Regions from separate parts of the Homo sapiens genome. Here region 2 is linked to region 1. Evidence: promoter capture Hi-C in 16 types of primary human blood cells and fetal thymus (Javierre and others, 2016). All regions are on one chromosome and are shown on one strand. The core of a region is centred on a gene start or on the middle of the fragment in contact, and the rest is flanking DNA. Distances in the headings are between cores, read along the strand shown. Region 1 holds the start of NPR2 (natriuretic peptide receptor 2). Region 2 has its middle 15 kb from the start of RECK.

What was found. Contacts are between HindIII fragments. The CHiCAGO score rates a contact against its expected background, and 5 or more counts as called.
Region 2: a fragment that was not itself captured here is called in contact with the fragment with the promoter of NPR2 in region 1 in 1 of 17 cell types (activated CD4 T cells); the score reaches 5.0 in activated CD4 T cells.

Annotation. Positions count from the first base shown.
Region 1 is chr9:35,788,525-35,792,840 of GRCh38, forward strand. NPR2 (natriuretic peptide receptor 2) reads left to right here and starts at 3,067. Exons shown (of 22, transcript NM_003995.4): 1 at 3,067-4,316. The coding sequence starts at 3,885. It also overlaps a transcript of RGP1 not described here. The HindIII fragment of the contact is 14,834 bases long and covers 1-4,316 here.
Region 2 is chr9:36,020,003-36,024,318 of GRCh38, forward strand. It overlaps the pseudogene OR2AM1P. Among named protein-coding and RNA genes, the nearest start is that of RECK, 15 kb to the right of the region's middle. The HindIII fragment of the contact is 916 bases long and covers 1,376-2,291 here.

The sequences.
Region 1 (4,316 bases), core at 1,817-4,316:
CACTACATTCCAGCCTGAGTAACAGAGTGAGACTCTGTCTCAAAAAAAGAAAAAAAAAAAAAGAAAAAGAAAGAGGGTGTTGATTGACCCTATCCAGAAGAAATTATAGCTGGTATCTGTTTGTGGATTAGAAGAAGGCCATGACAGTGCTACAAAGAGAAAGTTGGACCCTAGCTGGTTGCTGCTTAGGCCAGTAGAATCTAGATTTCCTAGGTTTTCTATGTATTGCAGCATGGTCACCAAATACAGCCAAAATATTATTGCCCATATCAATGACAGCAGTGATAGCTTGGATAGTGGGATATATACATAACCGAAGTTCTCATTTATTTAATATTTTCAGCTTTCCCTCAAACATGAAAAAATAAACACCAAAAGCCTTTCACTGTGTGTTAATAAAAAACCTCATTAGGGGATTTATCTTTTATCTCCCCACTCCTTCCCACTTCCCTTTTGTCTTTTAAATTTTATTTTTAGTTTTTACTTATGTTTTCTTTTCCTTTCTTTCTTTCTTTTTTCTTTTGAGATGGAGTCTTGCTCTGTCGCACAGTGGCGCGATCTCTGCTCACTGCAATGTCCGCCTCCCAGATTCAAGCGGTTTTCCTGCCCCAGCCTCCCAAGTAGCTGGGATTACAGGTGCCCACCACCACGCCCAGCTAATTTTTGTGTTTTTAGTAGAGACGAGATTTCACCTTGTTGGCCAGCCTAGTCTCGAACTCCTGACCTCAAACAATCCTCCTACCTTGGCCTCCTAAAGTGCTGGGATTACAGGCGTGAGCCACTGCACCAGGCTCCTTCCACTTCCTTTTTTTTTTTTTTTTTTTTTGAGACAGGGTCTTGCTGTCACCCAGGCTGCCTCTATCCTCTGGGATCAAGCGATCCCCCCACCTCAGCCTCCCAAGTAGCTGGGACCACAGGTTCGTGCCACCATATCTGATTGATTTGTTTGGTTTTTAATAGAGATTATAGGCATTACAGGCAAGAGCCACCGTGCCTGGCCCCTTCCTACTTTCTAGTTAACTGGCCAACTGGGAGGAAAAGGGAAAGGCAAGATGCTTGAATGTTTAATCCCTAACATAATGAAGAATAGTCCTTAATGTTCAGAATAATGACATATGATGCACTTGTACTTGCGTAGGAGTCTGGGTGACAGTGGTGGCTGATCCTCACTGAGGGCTGCAGGTGTTCCAGAGAGACTTGCCTGGGTTTGGTGGCTATTATATTGTAAGCACAGCTTTCTACAGTAAGTTCCATGAGTCAGCAAAATATCTATAAAGAGCCTCTCCTTGGAGACCATGAAACCTGCATTTTAATCTCTCTTTTGCAACTAAAAAGCCATGTGGGATTGGGGGAGAGGAGCAAGTAAGGACACTGCGACCTTCCTCTCTGGGATTTGGTTTTCAATTATCTTTAAATGAGAGGGCTAAACAATATATTTATATGATCCTCTTAGCCCTGCCATTCTGTAATTCTTTCAGGAATTTTGTCATTTTGGATTTGCTTGTCTCATAAAACAATGTGTAGTTGCTTAAAAATCAACTATTCTATTTGGTTGACTTGGTCTAAAGTATTTCTCATGTTGTCTCGTCATTCTTTTGACTGTTCCTTTTTTTTTTTTTTGCCTTGGCCAGATAGGACAAAATTCCTTTTCACTGCAGTATTGGGAGCCTGGAACTAGAGTTACCAACCCCTCTGCGTTAAAGAAGGAGCTGTCCTGAGGCTTCCATCTCTACTGGGCTTGAGGCAAGAACATTGTTAGGGACGGCCTGCTCTTGGCCTCTGTGCCCCAGGGATTGCAAATGCATGTTCCTCAAAGGTAAGGGCTGTATCATTCGGCTTTCTTTGTATTCACAGGTACAGCTTGTGCTAGGCAGCCGGTGTTCAATAAATATCGTGCCTAAGGATAAAGTGGCATTGTCCTTAATTTCCCCCACCAAACCACTAGGTGTCGCCTTCATCTCAGGGAAACCATGCCCGTCCTCGCCCTATACACTCCCACCCCACTCCAGGGCTCCAGGAGCGCTCTTAGCTTGTGATTTCTGGAGAAATAGCTTGAAGGGGGGAGAGAAACCGTGGCTCTTAGCGCGGGCAGAGAATGGGCTTATGTGCATGTCCTTTATGACAGTTGGAGAAAAATCCCCAAGGTCCCATAGCAGTCCCTCTCAGCCACCATGAGATCATCCCTCACAAGCTGTTCTTGGGGTCAGATTGGCACTCCAGATATGAGGGCCCTAGGGAGAGCTTCCTAAGGGAAGCTGGGAGCAAGGTGGAACCCCAGGAGAGCGTGGATGGGCTTCCACTGCGGGGAGTGTCCCGCCGGTCCGTTACAGGCTTTCCCCAGGCGCCAGCCTGCGCTGTGCAGGAGACAAAAGAAAATCGAGGCCCTGACTGAGCAGATGGTGCGGAGGAAGCCGGGCGGGCTGCGGTGGGCCTCTGAGGACACGAGGAGGGCAGGGGGCATGGAGACAGCGGGGGGCCGAGAGTTGAGTCCCAAGCAAGAAGGAGCCTCGTGGACTTTCTAAGGACTGGTGGGAAGTGTACAGCAGGGGCCCCTGGCTGCTGGAGGGGCCCGTCCAGGGAGCGGGCATGGTCCGCGGTGGAGTAAGCCGCACTGCCGTCGGGAGGGCGCTATGGTTTGCTAGGTGAGGGGGCTGGTGAGGATACCACACGTCTGGGGATCCTCGACTGCTTCCTGGAGACTGGAACCACTGAGGGACTCAGGGAGTTCAGAGGGGAGACCCAAGAAGAACGGGCTGAGCGAGGGGGAGAGGACAAACCCTGGGGTCGCTGGCGTGTGTGAGATGGAAATGGAAGGAGGGGCGGCAGGGGGACCAGGGGCGTGGGGGAGACCAGGGTAGGCCCTGAGAGTGAGGGAGCGCCCGGGAACCCTGCTGGCCGGCGAGGCCTTGGTGCGGAGCCCCCAAGTGCTCACCGGGGTGGGTTTGGGACCTGGCGGTCCCGAGCGCCCGGGTGGGGGGTGGGGGAAGGCAGCCGGCGCCGGAGGGTGGGGCCGGGAGGGAGGAGGAGAGGCAGCGGGGGAGGGGCGGGGGCGGGCGGCCTGCCCGGGGGAGTCGCACTCGGCCGCCGGCGCAGCGAGCGGAGACGGGCCGGGCCGAGGCGACCTGACCCGGACGAGCGGCGCGCGCGGGGCCCAGGCGGGGGGCGGGAGGAAGCGCCGGGCAGCGCCGGCCGCCAGGGCCCAGGAGAAGCGGAGCAGAGAGGAGCGGGGACACGGGCGGGGCCGCCGTAGCTCCGGATGGGACCAGCGCCCGGGCCCGTTAGTCCAAGCAGGAGCTCCGGGAGAATCCTTCACAGGGAGATTTACCCCTGCCTTCCCCTGCCCTCCGGCCCAGGCCTCGCTTCGCTCCCCGCCTGCCCATGATCCCAGTCCTTCCGCGGCGCGGGCACCCTCCCACCTTACCCCCTTGGTCCTATGTGGCGCAGCGCCCTCCTGCCCTCCCGGCCCTTTCAGCTGTGAGGTTCCCCCAGGCCGTTTCTTTGTACCACCCGCCCCCCACCCCCACCCCATCCCAGTCCCAGATCCCCTTTTCCTTCTCAGCTTTAGATTTATCAGGCTTCTTCACCTCGCACTGTCCCCATCCTGGCCGCAGGCCCCCTCGGTCCCTCCCTCCCCCTGCCACCCCGTTCTCAGTCCTCAGTCCTTGCCCTAGGCTGGTAGCCCACTCCTTGCCCGCCCCCCGCCTTCCTCCCATCTCCCCCTCCTCTCCCCGGCCCCCAGCACCTTCTGCATCCCAGCCTACCTAGCCTACTCCTCCTCTTCCTGGCCCTCTTCCCCAGGCTCCAGGCTGGGGGGTGCTCGCGTCTCCCCTGTAGGCCAGAGCAGCCCCAAGTTCTGGGGGCGGTGGGGCTGCTGCTTTATCCCCATGGCGCTGCCATCACTTCTGCTGTTGGTGGCAGCCCTGGCAGGTGGGGTGCGTCCTCCCGGGGCGCGGAACCTGACGCTGGCGGTGGTGCTGCCAGAACACAACCTGAGCTATGCCTGGGCCTGGCCACGGGTGGGACCCGCTGTGGCACTAGCTGTGGAGGCTCTGGGCCGGGCACTGCCCGTGGACCTGCGGTTTGTCAGCTCCGAACTGGAAGGCGCCTGCTCTGAGTACCTGGCACCGCTGAGCGCTGTGGACCTCAAGCTGTACCATGACCCCGACCTGCTGTTAGGTCCCGGTTGCGTGTACCCTGCTGCCTCTGTGGCCCGCTTTGCCTCCCACTGGCGCCTTCCCCTGCTGACTGCGGGTGCTGTGGCCTCTGGTTTTTCGGCTAAGAATGACCATTATCGTACCCTGGTTCGCACTGGCCCC
Region 2 (4,316 bases), core at 584-3,083, 230 kb after region 1:
CACCTCCTGGGTTCACGCCATTCTCCTGCCTCAGTCTCCCAAGTAGGTGGGATACAGGCACCTGCCACTGCACCTGCCTAATTTTTTTGTATTTTTAGTATAAACGGGGTTTCACTGTGTTAGCCAGGATGGTCTCAATCTCCTGACCTCGTGATCTGCCTGCCTCGGCCTCCCGAAGTGCTGGGATTACAGGCGTGAGCCACCGTGCCTGGCTGGGAATGCAAGGGTTTTTAAAGAAGGCATTTTGGAATGTGGAAAAGGCAAGTGGGGCTAGGAGATGCCAGGTGCTATGACAGTCCGATGGCTCATCTTGAATTATTGTTCCATTTGGTGAAGGGGCTGGTGCCATTGTGGATCCTACCAGGTTATAAATTAATCACAGTCAACCTTGTGTTCACTCTTCAGCTGAGAGTGGGTTCCAGCCCTGAGGTAACCTTTTGTTGGACAGAGAATTCTGGAGGTGTCTGGTCCCTATCAGGATCTGACCTCTGAAGCATCAAAGGAAGCATATGACCAGATAAGTGAGCATGGTGTGTGCTTAACAAGCATCTAGGTAAATAAATGTGCATAAGGCATGGGAGCACAGAATGGGAAAAGAAAGGGAGTGGAGGTTCACAGCCCATTCTGAGGCTGTATTTCAAGATGAAAGGTAACACATAAGCAGTCTGTCTCAAAGTTATATCTTGAGACTGGGGGTGGGAGGAGGAAGAAAGGGGAAAGGAAAAAGAGTTATAAAATGCATTTTGAGGCTTAGCTGCTAAGCTGCTTGATTATAGCTGGGACTACTGGTGCATGCCCCCAAACCCAGCTATTTTCTAAAAAAAAAAATTTTGTAGAGATGGGGTCTCATTGTGTTGCCCAAGCTGGTTTTGAACTCCTGAGCTCAAGCAATCCGCCTGCCTCAGCCTCCCAAAGTGCTGGGATTACAAAGGGGAGTCACCGCATCTGGCCTCCTAGTACAAAATTTATATTCAATTGATAATAGCTCCTACCACTGCTTCTACAGCTGCTGTTGCTGTTATAGCCCTTGCACTGATTTTTTAGCATGTCTGTCTTCTCCTAAATATTGAGCTCTTTAAAGTAGAAACTTTGATTTTCATCTCTGAGTACCCAGCACTGAGAATCAGGCCTGGCACAGAAGGTGTGCTCAGTAGCCATCTCTTGACTTGAGCCAAACGGCCACGGCACAGACACTGTGTGCTTGCACAGGTACAGGACAGTCTCACAGCTCCTTGCTGGAAGTGCTCCTGTAGCAACCTGGGAAGGGGTCAGATCACAAAGCAGAGCTCGGAGGAGATGGATTTCTACAGAGTTTGTATGGTTTTCAAGCACAGGGTAAAATAAAGCCAACTGCAAAACCTCTGGATTGTCAACAAGCTTATGATGACCCAGGATAAATCACATGTGAGCACCTAGAAATCCGAAAGAGAGATTTTTAGTTCCCTGAAAAAAGCAAGGGAAATCTCAGGACCAGCCTCAGAAGCAAGTCAGTGTCTTTCGTGAGAGCTGATGGGGAATGAGGAGGAGGGAAGTTCAGAGATAACTGAACTTCAACTTGGCCAAAACGTGCAGGAGGCCCCTTGCTATCCAGTCATAGAGGCTCACTGGTGAAGTGAAATTTACTTAAAGGTCAGTAAAAGTTTAAAGTCTTGGCACTGGAGTTACAGGGTACCTGGGACTGACTCCTGGCTGATATCACCAGAGCAGAGGAGTTCTTGGCCCATCTGCCCTAAGGGAAGGGAAGAGACTAAATGTCATCAGTCACCTGCCCTTCTATGGGGACATCATCAACCACTTGACCTGTGAGGTCCTGGCTGTCCTGAAGTTGGCCTGTGCTGACATCTCTATCAACATGATCAGGCAAAAGGCCTTCTCCACCTGCTCTGCCCACCTCACAGTTGTGGTCATCTTCTACAGGACCATCCTCTTCACGCATGGGAAGCCCAAGTCGAAGGACCCACTGGGGGCAGACAAGCAGGATTTTGCAGACAAACTCATCTCCCTCTCCTATGGAGTGGTCACCCCCATGCTGAACACCATCATCTACAGCCTGAGGAAAAAGGGTGTGAAGGCTGCTGTGAAGAACCTGGTATTTCAGAAACCCCTAACTGAATGACAGACTGTCAGAATCCCAGGTGGCCAGAACATATGATCTCTAAGCACCTCACTGTGCTCATGGGGAAATGATAACTCAGAGGAAAGAAGGGACTTTCCCAAGGTCCAGGCCATGAACCATGGGACTAGGACGAACAAGTAAACTGAGTGTCCCCTGTTGTGTCACAAGTAATGGAAGCTTCTATCAAAGGACCTAGAGGGAAAGTGCCCCCACATTTCTACTTTTAATTTCCCATTGCCCCATTTCCTTACCTATCTATTTTTAATTTTTTGGCCTTGAATACATTTTTGGGTTACCACAAATCCTTTCTGACATGAGAGTAGGCATAATTGCAACCAAAGAAACAAAGCAACAAAAAAGCAAACAAAAAACCCAAATGAACTAATGACAAGACATGGCAGTGGGGGTTGGGGTGGGGGCTGGCCGTCGGAGCCCCTCCGTGGACCTTAGCTGTTTCTCTCCCCTGCTAGAAGCTAGTTTTAGACTGCATGGCTTTGAGGTCCTTTCAAAGTTGACCTTCCAAGGCAGTGATTCTAGCCACAGGACCTTGAGTATTGTGGTGTATTAGGCCATTCTTGTACTGCTATAAAGAAATACCTGAGACTGGGTAATTTATAAAGAAAAGAAGTTTAACTGGCTCATGGTTCTGCAGACTATACAAACATGGCTCCAGCATCTGCTTAACTTCTGGGGAGGCCTCAGGGATCTTTTACTCATGGCAGAAGGTGAAGTGGGAGCAGGCACTTCACATGGCCAAAGCAGGAGTGAGTGAAAGAGAGAGAAAGATAAAGAGAGAGAAAGAGAGAGAGAGCAGGCAGGAGGTGCCACACTTTACAACAACTGAATCTTGGGAGAACTCACTATCACAAAGACAGCACCAAGCCATGAGGAATCTGCCCGTGATCCAAACACCTCCCACCAGGCCCCAGCTCCAGCACTGGGGATTACAATTCAATATGAGTTTTGGGTGAGGAAAGTATCCAAACTATATCATGTGGAAATACCACTGGCCATCCGAATTGAATTATTATAACAGCAGCTTCTAGCACTTCCAGAGAAAACAAGATAGCTGTTCAAAGAGCATCTGAGGGGAGGGAGTGGAGAGGCAGCCGCTCAGGTCAGCATAGACCACAGAGTGCTTTCAGCCCAGGCCAGGCAGCCTGACACCTGCCTTCCAAGTCCAGCCCTAACACTATTTCCCGCTGCTGAGCACTTGGCTAAGTCTCCTTCCTTCTCTGGGCCTTGATTTCTTTGTCTGTAAAATGAGAGCGTATAGCCCGTCCCTGTCACTAGCCAATACAACTGGGGACTGCCAGAGAGGGGGAACTCATGGCTCGCACCCCACCACCCGCCACTCTTTGATTAGGGGTCTCCTCTGGGGTCGCCCCTCCATTCATTCCCTCCACAGTTCGTGAGCAATTGTTCCTAACTTCCAGTGCCACTTACAGAATTGGGTGGCTGGTTGCAGCTCTAGCTACCTGTGCCTGCTGCAAACCTGCCACCTGGTGGACATTGCTGAAGCTGACAATTGAAATTTCTGCAAGCTCCTGAGATAGGTGCTTCTCAAACTTGAATGTTTTCATGAGTTATCTGAGAATGTGGATAAGGATTCGGTGAGTCTGAGGTAGGGTCTGACATTCTACATCTCTAACAGATTTCCAGGTAATGTCTATGCTGCTGAACTCTGCAGGCCACGCTTTGAGGAGCAAAGCCCTAGAAGATGTGGGACCAGGGCAGGAGGGCTGAAGGAAGAGGCAGGGTAGGAAGACGTCCTCGCGCAAGTCTCCTACTGTGAGCCAAGCCCTTGGGCATCAGCAAGCCTGTGAGGTGTTCATCAGCCCGGCAAATTCCCTCATAGCAAAAGCCTAAAATGTCAATGCTTTTAAGTCTCTGGGTTGCAGATTTCACTTAATTTTTGGCCTTTGAGTATCCCTTAGTTTCTGGAAAGCTCATCAGTACCTTTTAAAAAAATGTTTTTACATTTTATTCAGCATGCTCAGTTGTGTTTCACACTCAGCAAGACGAGAATACTCAGAGAATCTAATTGTTCATGCTGCCAGAAGAGATACCCTTGACCAGTGTGGTTTTATATTCCCAAAATCAAGTTGCCCATTTGCTCCCCCTATTCAATCAATAGTTTCATTAATTCATGGAGATGAACAAAGACTCCCTAGAATGAAACGTTTGTTTTTCTCTTAGA